3 separate regions of the Homo sapiens genome follow, and regions 2 and 3 are each linked to region 1. The links are contacts of gene promoters, found by promoter capture Hi-C in blood cells and fetal thymus (Javierre and others, 2016). All regions are on one chromosome and are shown on one strand. Each heading gives the region's core, a stretch centred on a gene start or on the middle of the fragment in contact. The rest is flanking DNA. Distances are from core to core; before and after follow the strand shown.

Evidence for each region. Contacts are between HindIII fragments. The CHiCAGO score rates a contact against its expected background, and 5 or more counts as called.
Region 2: a contact is called between a fragment that was not itself captured here and the fragment with the promoter of LCORL in region 1, in 10 of 17 cell types (naive B cells, naive CD8 T cells, endothelial precursors and 7 more). The highest score is 9.4, in naive B cells.
Region 3: a fragment that was not itself captured here is called in contact with the fragment with the promoter of LCORL in region 1 in 4 of 17 cell types (total CD4 T cells, naive CD8 T cells, non-activated CD4 T cells and 1 more); the score reaches 8.1 in total CD4 T cells.

The regions. Positions count from the first base shown.
Region 1 is chr4:18,020,222-18,023,489 of GRCh38, forward strand. It overlaps LCORL (ligand dependent nuclear receptor corepressor like), which reads right to left and starts at 1,534. Exons shown (of 8, transcript NM_001394446.1): 1 at 1,377-1,534. The coding sequence starts at 1,530. RefSeq lists silencers at 746-1,075, 1,396-1,855 and an enhancer at 1,906-2,165. The HindIII fragment of the contact is 12,000 bases long and covers 1-3,268 here.
Region 2 is chr4:18,591,529-18,594,796 of GRCh38, forward strand. The region is part of intron 1 of LOC105374510 (a long non-coding RNA gene); the gene reads left to right. Among named protein-coding and RNA genes, the nearest start is that of LCORL, 570 kb to the left of the region's middle. The HindIII fragment of the contact is 4,680 bases long and covers 1-3,268 here.
Region 3 is chr4:17,499,507-17,502,774 of GRCh38, forward strand. It overlaps QDPR (quinoid dihydropteridine reductase), which reads right to left. Exons shown (of 7, transcript NM_000320.3): 4 at 2,213-2,353. Among named protein-coding and RNA genes, the nearest start is that of QDPR, 11 kb to the right of the region's middle. The HindIII fragment of the contact is 6,470 bases long and covers 1-3,268 here.

The DNA of each region.
Region 1 (3,268 bases), core at 284-2,783:
AAAAAAGATCTTAAGACGTTAACCAAATACATGGGAGGCGGGGTCGGGGGTGCGAGGTGGTGCCAGAGCAGATGGAAACAAGGTAAGAGAGTTGTTTTCTTAAGACACTAGGGTTACTCCCCAACTCCAAATGCCAAGATTCACTCGCCAGTAGAGCAAGCTGCTGCCACTATCCACTGCTTACACAATACAACCTTCCTTTCTACCTCTTCCCCTACACTCCCACCCATAACCCCCTTCCAAAACAAACACCCACAACGCGCCCCATTCCATAATCCGTGTTCGCCCCTCTAAGCCCACTAAACCAACCTGCTGGATAACAGCTCTATGCATTCGTCTTAGGCAAAAAAAGAAAAAAAAAAAAGCGACTGCAGCAAGGTCGGGAGTCCCACCATTCCTGTCACCCTAAACAATCCACAGGGTGAGAGCCCCAAGCCCAGAAGTTTGAGGCAAAACGATTCAGATCCAACCAAAAAGAGGGAATTGCAGTTGAATGGGGATGGGAGGTGGGGAGGGCGATGCGTATGCGTGTATATGTGTGTGTGTGTGTAAGGAAGAGTCCATCACATGACAGTGAAAGAGGACCAGAGTCGTCGGGGCGTCCGCAAGCAGACGGGGGGGAGGGTGTCGTTGCCGTGGCAACACCCCCCATCCGTCCAGACTTCCAAAGAGGGAGGAAGAACTTCAAATCCCAACCGTCAGCGCTCAAGCGGCTCCTTCTTAAAGGGGTACACACAGCGCCGCCGCCGAGCGCGAGAGGGCAGAGTTGGGCGCCCCCCGCCCCTCGGACGACGCCCCCGCCGCCCCTCGCCCCCAGCCGGCCCATCAGCGGCCCCCGCCCTGCGAGTGCCCGTGGGTCTCCAGGTCCAGGTCCCCGGGAACTGGCCGCGTCTGCTCACCCGGCCCCCGGCGGCGACAAGGGGGTGTGTGTGCGCTCGGCGGGGGCGCGGACCAGCCCGCCTTCCTCCGGCCGCCCTGCCCGCCGGCTCTCCTCCGCCAGGGCGCCGACCCACCGGGCCGCTTCCTCCGTCCTGTCAGGGTGGACGGCGGGCGACGGCGGGCAGCGACGGGCGCCGAGGAGTTTCGGGGAGAGAGCGAGCGGGCGGCTTCCGCGGGGGCTCAGCAAGCGGGTCCAAACTAACAGTTCCCGGGGAGCCCAAGAGCTGGGAAGGCGAAGGAGCGCGGACCGCGCCGGGCCAGCAGCCCGCAAGACAAAAGGCGAGCGCCGGGGCCGCCGCGCCGCGCCGCTCCCATCTCGCTCCCCCACCGAACTAACCCGAACGGGAGATTCAACTAAACCCCTCAGCCACAAACTCCTCGGGCTGCGACAGCGGTCGCCGCGCGGAGCCCGGGGCCCCGGCCCGCGTCTCTCTTACCTACACAGTGCATGAGGCGGTGGCGCCAAGAGTCGAGTTCCCGCCGGAATCCTCTTCTCTCCGCCGCGCACCGAGGGCTCCGGCACTGAGCGGCGGCGGCGGCGGCGGCAGCAGCGGCGGCGGCAGCGGCCATTCTCTCTCTTCCCTTGTCCATCTGCGTCCCGCGTCACGCGCCCTCATTTACATACGAGCAGCGCAGGCACGAGGCAGGGGCGCGAGCCCTCGGCGCGAGCCCCGGAGCGCGCGCCCCCCGGAGGGGGGTTGATTGACACGTGTCACTACCTTCCCTCTGCCCTGCCCTCCCCCTCCCACCGCTCCCTCAGGGAGAGGCGGGGAGGGAGCCAGAGGAGAAGGAAGCAACCTGCCGCTTCCGCTGACCCCGCCTCCCCACCCACTACCCTCCTCCCCCTCCCGCTGGAGTTTACTCAGGCGAGCCATACCGCTCCCGCCGCCCGCGAAAACCCTGAGCGGGAGCGAGAGACCCGGAGCCCAGCCAGGAACCGGCGTGCTAGTGGAGCGGACTAGCAACGCCTACTTTCTGCCTTCACTACGGGACTCCGACAGTCCGGAGACTTCACTTCCCAGGCTCCATTTCGCCAGGATCCCGAAGCTGAACTTGGCGCCGTGGCGCGTTGCTTGCCGGTCATTGTAGTCCAGAAGAAAGGATTTTTTTTGTTTGTTTGTTTTTCTTCCCCCCCGCACTTGGGTATGCAGGCTGGCCTGCAACTTCTCTGCGCCGCGCCGCTGGGGGGCTGAGTCTGTCGCTCCCTGCGCCCGGAACCATGCGCTGCCCGGTGGCCGGGTCTGACCCGACTGCTTTAGCTTCCTTAGGCTCCGCGATAGAAGGGTGGTGGAAGCCGCAAGAGTTGTCGGCTCCTTGTGGGTTCAGGCTGCGCTTTGCGTTTTAAGTGCTGGAAACTTTCCGGGGTCGCTGTCTTCCTGTCACTCCGCAGGGAAAGGGCAAGCCGGTCATTCGGCTACATCTGGAATAACTGCCAAACGTCCAGAGAGAGATCCCGGAGTGACTTCGGTATTCAAGGCGAAGAGATCTCGGAAAGCCAGAATATTTGCAAGGACTAGGAAAAAGATGCGGGTTTTTTTCACTGAAAATTACTTGCAGGGGACTGGGTGTAGCCGGCTGAAAACTGCAGAAGGAAAATTTTCTTTATAAGCTCCTGGAGGGCAGCGACCCACTGAGATCTCTGTACCGTGACATCTGTCACTCGCTAGACCCTAGTACAGTGCGTGACACGGGATTAAGCACTTTACAAAGGTTAATGGAATGAATTCTACCACGTGCTAGAGAAAATAACTTCTTCAGAGAGAGCTAGAGAGGAATCTTACGTTTAAATACAGACTCCAATCACAGTTTTTACTTTTGCACCAGAGCGATTGTGCGTTTGTTTCCGTATAAGTGCAGTTTATCAAGCCGAAGCTAAGCTACCCAACGTTTGCTAAGAAGTACTGTGTATTTCTGGAAATTTATTCACAAGTCTGTGGGAAATATGTTTAATTCTTCTTGGAAATCTCATAAACTCTGAATTCAGTACCACCTTCCCTGTTTTGTGGCTTATCCTTATCCACCTTCTTTTTCTTCCTATGAGAAAGTATTTCTTTGCTCATTATGACTTCAGTAGTGAAGATGTAATTTTGCATCTTCATAAGTTAAAAATAATAAAGTTTGAACGCATAATCACCTTTTCTAGAACGGTCACAATTGGAGTGCAGGTGAAATCACTAGTGAAGGTGATTTTGGAATTGTCAGTGGATGGTTTTAGTTAACCACTTCCACTCACAATTGCCACGATGATCAGCCTTTGCAGTTTTCCTGATCACTTTTATAGTAATCTACATTAGTTAGGATGGGAAAAATTATGGTGCAGTAATAAATG
Region 2 (3,268 bases), core at 346-2,845, 570 kb after region 1:
CTGTTGTAATATTGCTTGTAGAGATCACAACCATCTTGCTGTTATCAGACCTTCATGCTGTCTACTCTATTGATGACATCTCACTGACAAATTGTCTATTGTAAGCTGAATGTATGCTGGAAATGGTGTATTAGGAATTGAGCTCAAGAAGATCCAGAAATGATACCAGCAAACAGGTAGCCTAGACTCACTCCCATGTTATTCTGACACCTCTCTCTTGACACACACCTGCGGCTTGCTGGGATATTTCCTGTGATTAGTTGACAACTGAGGAAAGGACCCAGGCCTGGTTCACAATGGACTGGCATGATGTTGGTGCTAGCTGAAAATGCACTATTGTTCTATTATAGCACCATTAAAGGACAATGATGAAATAGAATACTTTGGCTGGGCAGAGTTTTAAACACCTGGTCATGAGCTTGGTGTGGTGGGAGATGTTGCCTGCTAAGATGCAGGCATATGCACACATACACACACCCGTGCACACACTTCTGGGCAGTGGCAAATGGTTTGGGTGGAATAATGAAAGGATCACGAATGGAAAATCAGGGACAAGTTGCTAGTGGAAACAAGTGTGTAGATGAACCTATGACCATGAGCCTAGAGCATGTGGATCATTTATCTTAGGTAAATGCCTGCCAGAGAGCACCTCCTGTGAAGGAGGATTTGAACACCCAGGGGAAAGATGATTTCCCTTCTAATCTCAGCTGGGCTCTGTCCCTGGCCCCCTAAGTGCTCCTTGCTGCAGCCTTAAGGTGATCGGCAGTGCGGTTATGTGATAGTTTTCAAAACCATAAAAACAGTATTTCTTTTTATTGTATTAGTTTCTTTCTGGTCCAACCACTCTTTAACCATATTTAGTCTGTTGGTGTGGTGCTATGATGTCATTTTTAAATTAAAAGAAAACTAACCATACATTTTCTTAGTTAAGATCATACAGAGAGGAAATAAACCGTTAGGATCTGTCAAATTAATTACAATACATCCTTGCTATGGAATCTATGTTAAAAAGAGAGAGAGAGAGAAGAAAAAACGGGCTAGGTGCAGTGGTTCATGCCTGTAATCCCAGCACTTTCGGAAGCCAAGGTGGGTGGATTGCCACAGCTCAGGAGTTTGAGACTAGCCTGGGCAACATTGTGAAGCCCTGTCTCTACTAAAAATACAAAAAATTAGCGGGGTATGGTGGCACACACTTGAAATCCCAGCTGTCTGAGAGTCTGAGGCATGAGAATTTGCTTGAGCTCCTTGAGCCTGGAAGGCAGAGGTTGCAGTGAGCCGAGATCATGCCGCCGCACTGCAGCCTGGGCGATAGAATGAGACTCAGTCAAAAAAAAAAAAAAAAAAAAAAGCCTGCATGATTTTTTGTTTCTTTCTTGAAACTTCTCTACTTAAAAATTTAAAAATACATTTGAATAATAAAAAAATAATTTTTAATGGGAGAGAAATTATTTTGAATGTAAAATGAGTGTGATGGGGAGGAAAATTGTGGGTTTATGCATTAGATTGTTCAGATTCTGTGTATTTACTGTCTTTGGGAGCTGAAGTTAGTTTATTTTTTTTTTTACTTTACTTTCTTCCTGTGTAAAATGAAAATAATGACACCTATTATACACAATTACTTTAAGATTAAATGAGATAGTCCCTTTGGTGCACCTGATATATATAATCAAGATGAAATATTTTGAATGCATAGATTGGCAAGCAGGCTGCACTGTGGATTTATTGCTAGACAAATACAACTTGTGTCAATTTGAAGAAGTCACCAATAAAAATGAAAAATGCCAAACCAAATATTTCTTTGCTCCTTGTTGGAAAGTCACATAAAGAGACAAGATAATAAAACTTAAACTCAGGGACACGTTTTAAGTCCATGATTTGCCTGAAATTGTAGTTGTTAGTTGTGTTTTGCTTTCCTTCTTGTATGAAAGCACCTTTCTCTAAGTCCCTAGTGATATTTGTGCCAAACAAAATAATTGGCTCATTAGGCTGCTGTAGTATTGCCTCTCACTCGGCACCCATATCCTTCTAGTAAGCTGGAAAGAAGAAACAGAGCTCTCTATTCAGAGACCACACAGCTTGCTATCTTTTTTTGCACATCTCGAAGTCAAAGAGGACACAAAAGGATGTTTTTCTGAGCCAATTGGCAGCGCACTCTTATTCTGAACTGCTGGGGCTGGAAGTCTTTCAATGCATGGTAATACTGCCACCATGTGGTCAAACTGAGAAAACCTCGCCCAAATCCTTCAGTCGAAGAGGATTTTCCTTAACATTAATGGGACAGAAGCATTGCGCTTCTTCGACTGGGATTGTTTCACGATAGTCACAAACTATCGTGATTGTTTAGGTAAACGGTTGTCTCACATAAAGGGGCTGAGTGTACTTGATTGGGTGCTAACTGCTAATCCTCCCATTAGCGTGACTGTAACTTTAAATCATTGGTACTTTGAAGTTTCTGTTCTAGGAAATAAGGATGAGAATCTCCATGCTTCCCTATTTCATAAGGTAAGGGAGATACAGTAATATATGCATCGCAACTCTAGATGTAATGGTGTCATAAAATTTCGGGGAGAAAAGTGGGATTTGCTAACCAAAGTGCTGCTATTTGAATGCTGCCACTTTTTAGGGGTATGATCTGAAACAAGTTTTTTCATTTCCTTGGTCCATAGTTTATTGTTCTGAAGAAATGCTGTGAATATTACCTTTTTTTTTTTCTTTTGAGATGGAGTCTCGCTCTGTCGCCAAGCAGGAGTGCAGTGGTGCGATCTCGGCTCCCTGCAACCTCCACCTCCTGGGTTCAAGCCATTCTCCTGCCTCAGCCTCCCGAACAGCTGGGACTACAGGCACACGCCACCACGCCCAGCTAATTTTTGTATTTTTAGTAGAGACGGGGTTTCACCATGTTGGCCAGGATGGTCTCGATCTCTTGACCTTGTGATCCGCCCACCTCGGCCTCCCAACCATTTTTAACTAAGATATTATGTTGATTGTTTGCTGAAAAATTGCTTTTTTAAAATGTAAAATGCTACACCAATATTAGTTTGCATGATTATTATTTGAATACAGACTTAAGAATCTTTATGGCGAAAATTATGCTTGGCTGAATTAGAAGATCTGTGTCCTGGTTCCCACTTGCTCACTAGTATTTTAGGTAAAATTGGACAAGTCAGATATGAAGACATCCATTATTCCCTCTCTCATATATGGATAATGAGCTCATATTTTGTGTATCCTATGGTGAATGTTATTGACATGAACCTTTTGGGGAGAT
Region 3 (3,268 bases), core at 209-2,708, 520 kb before region 1:
CTTTAATGATTGCTATAGCCATGGACTTGTAACATCACATGCTCTAAGAAATGGAAGAAGAAAATGAGAGGGAAGGTATTGCTAGTAGTCACAGCCTCACAGTTCAGTGAGTTACATTAAAATTGAGAAGGGGCCTGGCGTAGTGGCTCATGCCAGTAGTCTCAGTGCTCCGGGAGGCCAAGGCAGGAGCATCACCTGAAGCCAGGAATTTGAGACCAGCCTGGGCATCATAGCGAGACCCTGCTTCTACAAAAAATACAAAAATTAGCCAGGCATGGCAGTGTGTGTCTGCAGTCCCAGCTACTCAGGAGGCCGAGGCAAAGGATTGCTTGAGCCCAGGAGTTCCAAGCTACAGTGAGCTAGATCATACCACTACATTCCAGCCTGGGTGAGACCCTGTCTCTAAAAAAATAAACAACTGAGAAGGGTCCCAAGGTCTCTACCACTTACAAGAGAGTCAAAAAGAGCTCCCCCCACCTTTTTTTTTTTTCTTTTGAGAGGGAGTCTTGCTCTGTTGCCCAGGCTGGAGTGCAGTGGCGCGATCTCGGCTCACTGCAAGCTCCACCTCCTGGGTTCACGCCATTCTCCTGCTTCAGCCACCATCACGCCTGGCTAATTTTTTGTATTTTTAGTAGGGACAGGGTTTCATCGTGTTAGCCAGGGTGGTCTCAATCTCCACCTCATGATCCACCCGCCTTGGCCTCCCAAAGTTCTGGGATTACAGGTGTGAGCCACTGCACCCGGCCAAAAGCTCCCATTTTTTTAAAAGAAGAGTTCAACTTAGGTAGTTGAGGTAGACACTTTCTGCCTCCCTATGCTGCCCCTTTCTACCCCTGCTTAAATTCCTTTAGCCCTATCCCACAGGGAGTGTTATGGGCTGAAATAGATCCCCCCAACATTCGTATATTGAAGTCCTAATTCCCAGTACCTCAGAATGGGACTGTATTCGAAGATCTTTAAAGAGGCAACAAAGTTAAAATGAGCCCATTGAGATGGGCCCTAGTCCAATATGCCTGGTTTCCTTAGAAGAGGAGGAAACGAGGACAGACACACAGAGGGAAGACCACATGCAGACAAAAGGAGAAGGCAGCCATCTATAAAAAAAGAGGATTCAGAAGGAGCCAGCCCTGCAGATACCTTGATCTCCAGACTTTTAGCCTCCAGAGTTATGAGAAAATAAATCTCTGTTGTTTAGGCCACCCAGTCTGTGGCTACCCAAACAAACTAATACAGGTCATAAAAAATGCAAAAGAAATGACATAATGGAAAAAATACACAGTTGGTAGATGATTAGGGTTTTGGTTCAAGTAAGTCTGCAACTTACTTCCTGCACAAACCCAGACAAGTTACTTAACTCTCCAAGTTTTAGTTTCCTAACCTGTAAACTGAAAAAGATAATATTGATGAGATTAAAGTGAGAATATATGTGAAATGAAAAGAGTGACTATAAGACCTACCATTTATTGTGAATAACAGTAAGACTTGCCATTTATGGGTGCCTACCATGTGCACTTTCTACATAGCTACACCTCTACAGTTTTACAGTACTCTTCAAGTTAGATGTCACTGTCACTATTTTACAATTAAGGAAACTACAGTAGACATCTGGTCAGAGACTGAAGAACTGGTTCAGGGTCACACATCTAGGATAAAGAATCCACCCCCAACCCTCTCACTCTCTTTTTGTTTTCTAATGTAGAGATAGGGTCTCACTATGTTGCCCAGGCTGGTCTTGAACTCCTGGGCTCAAGCAATCCTCCTGCTTCAGCCTCCCAAAAGTGCTGGGATTACACGTGTGAGCCACTGTGCTGGCCAAATGAACCTCTCTCATTTTAAACTTATGCTATTTCCAGCTGCTAAGCTGCTTCCCTGGAACACATGGATTCAATGTGATAATAATAATCCATGTTTATTAATTAATTAATATCCACTAAACCATTCATTCCAGTGTAGATCACAGATAAATAAACTAAATGGGGGTTACCAGATCATAGCGTTCCTTACCACCACCATAAACATAAGGACAGGCAAACAAAAGATCAGAACTCTTCTCCCTAAAATGATTCAGGCCCAAAAGAAGACAAAATCCATCTATCTGTTAAGCAGCTTAGAGGGTAAAGGCTTTAACAGTCCTCATCCCATGAAAGTGCCCAGCAGCCCCAGCAAGCAAGGTAAGCAACCCCACTCCACAGATAGGGAAATAAAGGCTTACCAGGAGTCCCATCCAGGGCAGCCTTTGCGCCAGCCAAGGTCAGGAGGCCTCCTTCCTTGAGATGCTTGGTAGCCAGATGGCTGGAGATGGTCGATGTCCATATGCTCTGCTTCCACATCAGGTCACAGTTCTTAAAGAGAGCTGAGTGAAAAAAACATGTGGGCTCAGCATTCCCAGGAAAGAAACCAAAAGGTGAGCTCAACTCATGCAGCCCCACACTCAGGGAGGCCCTCCCTCCTGGTCCCCAGGTCCCTATCTACAGCAAGGTCTAACACAAACAGCACAGGGCTCAGTGGTCAGAGACACAGGTTCAAATCCAGGCCATGGGATTGCCTGAGGTTCAGCTTCCTTACCTATACACTGGCAAAATGTTGGCCAATAAATTTTACAAAATAAACCTGGAGTTTACTGATTTGCTGGACTGGCTTTAATTCAAAGATTGTTTTATTTTATGAATGGTATCAGATTTGTAATAAGAACCTATATGTCTACGTCAGGTTTTCTCTGTGATAAAAATCCAAGGGCCTATTACTGTACAGCTATAAAGAGAGCTTTTACTGAGCTACATATTTTATGTCTGAAAGTTTAATGTTAGCTTTAAAGACTCTTCAAAAGAAAGCTAAAATAACAACCATTTTACACTTGTTTTAACTCCCCGGCCTTGCCAGAGACATAAGGAAGAACAAATGGTAACATATGTCACACCACCAACTGGGCAACTCGAAGGGCATGTGGTACCTGGTGATCAAAAAAGGATGTCCTCCTGATATAGGAGGGGTTGGTAGGTGATAAACAAGAAATTGCATTTCCCCACTAAAAAAGACTAGGAAAAAAACCTGATGGATCCACATTTATCATTTCTTGCTCCCAAAACATACAAAAAGGTTATCAAGCTGTTTTGCTAACCTGATCACCTCACAAAGCACCACTCTCACATTGACATGTGGGTCACAGAATGTCAACGTCTTTTTAAATGGCTTTGGCTAATAAATGTAGAAGGGATGACAGAATTAGAAAACTACCATTTTCCAACCCCTGAATAAGTGCTTCAGGCAG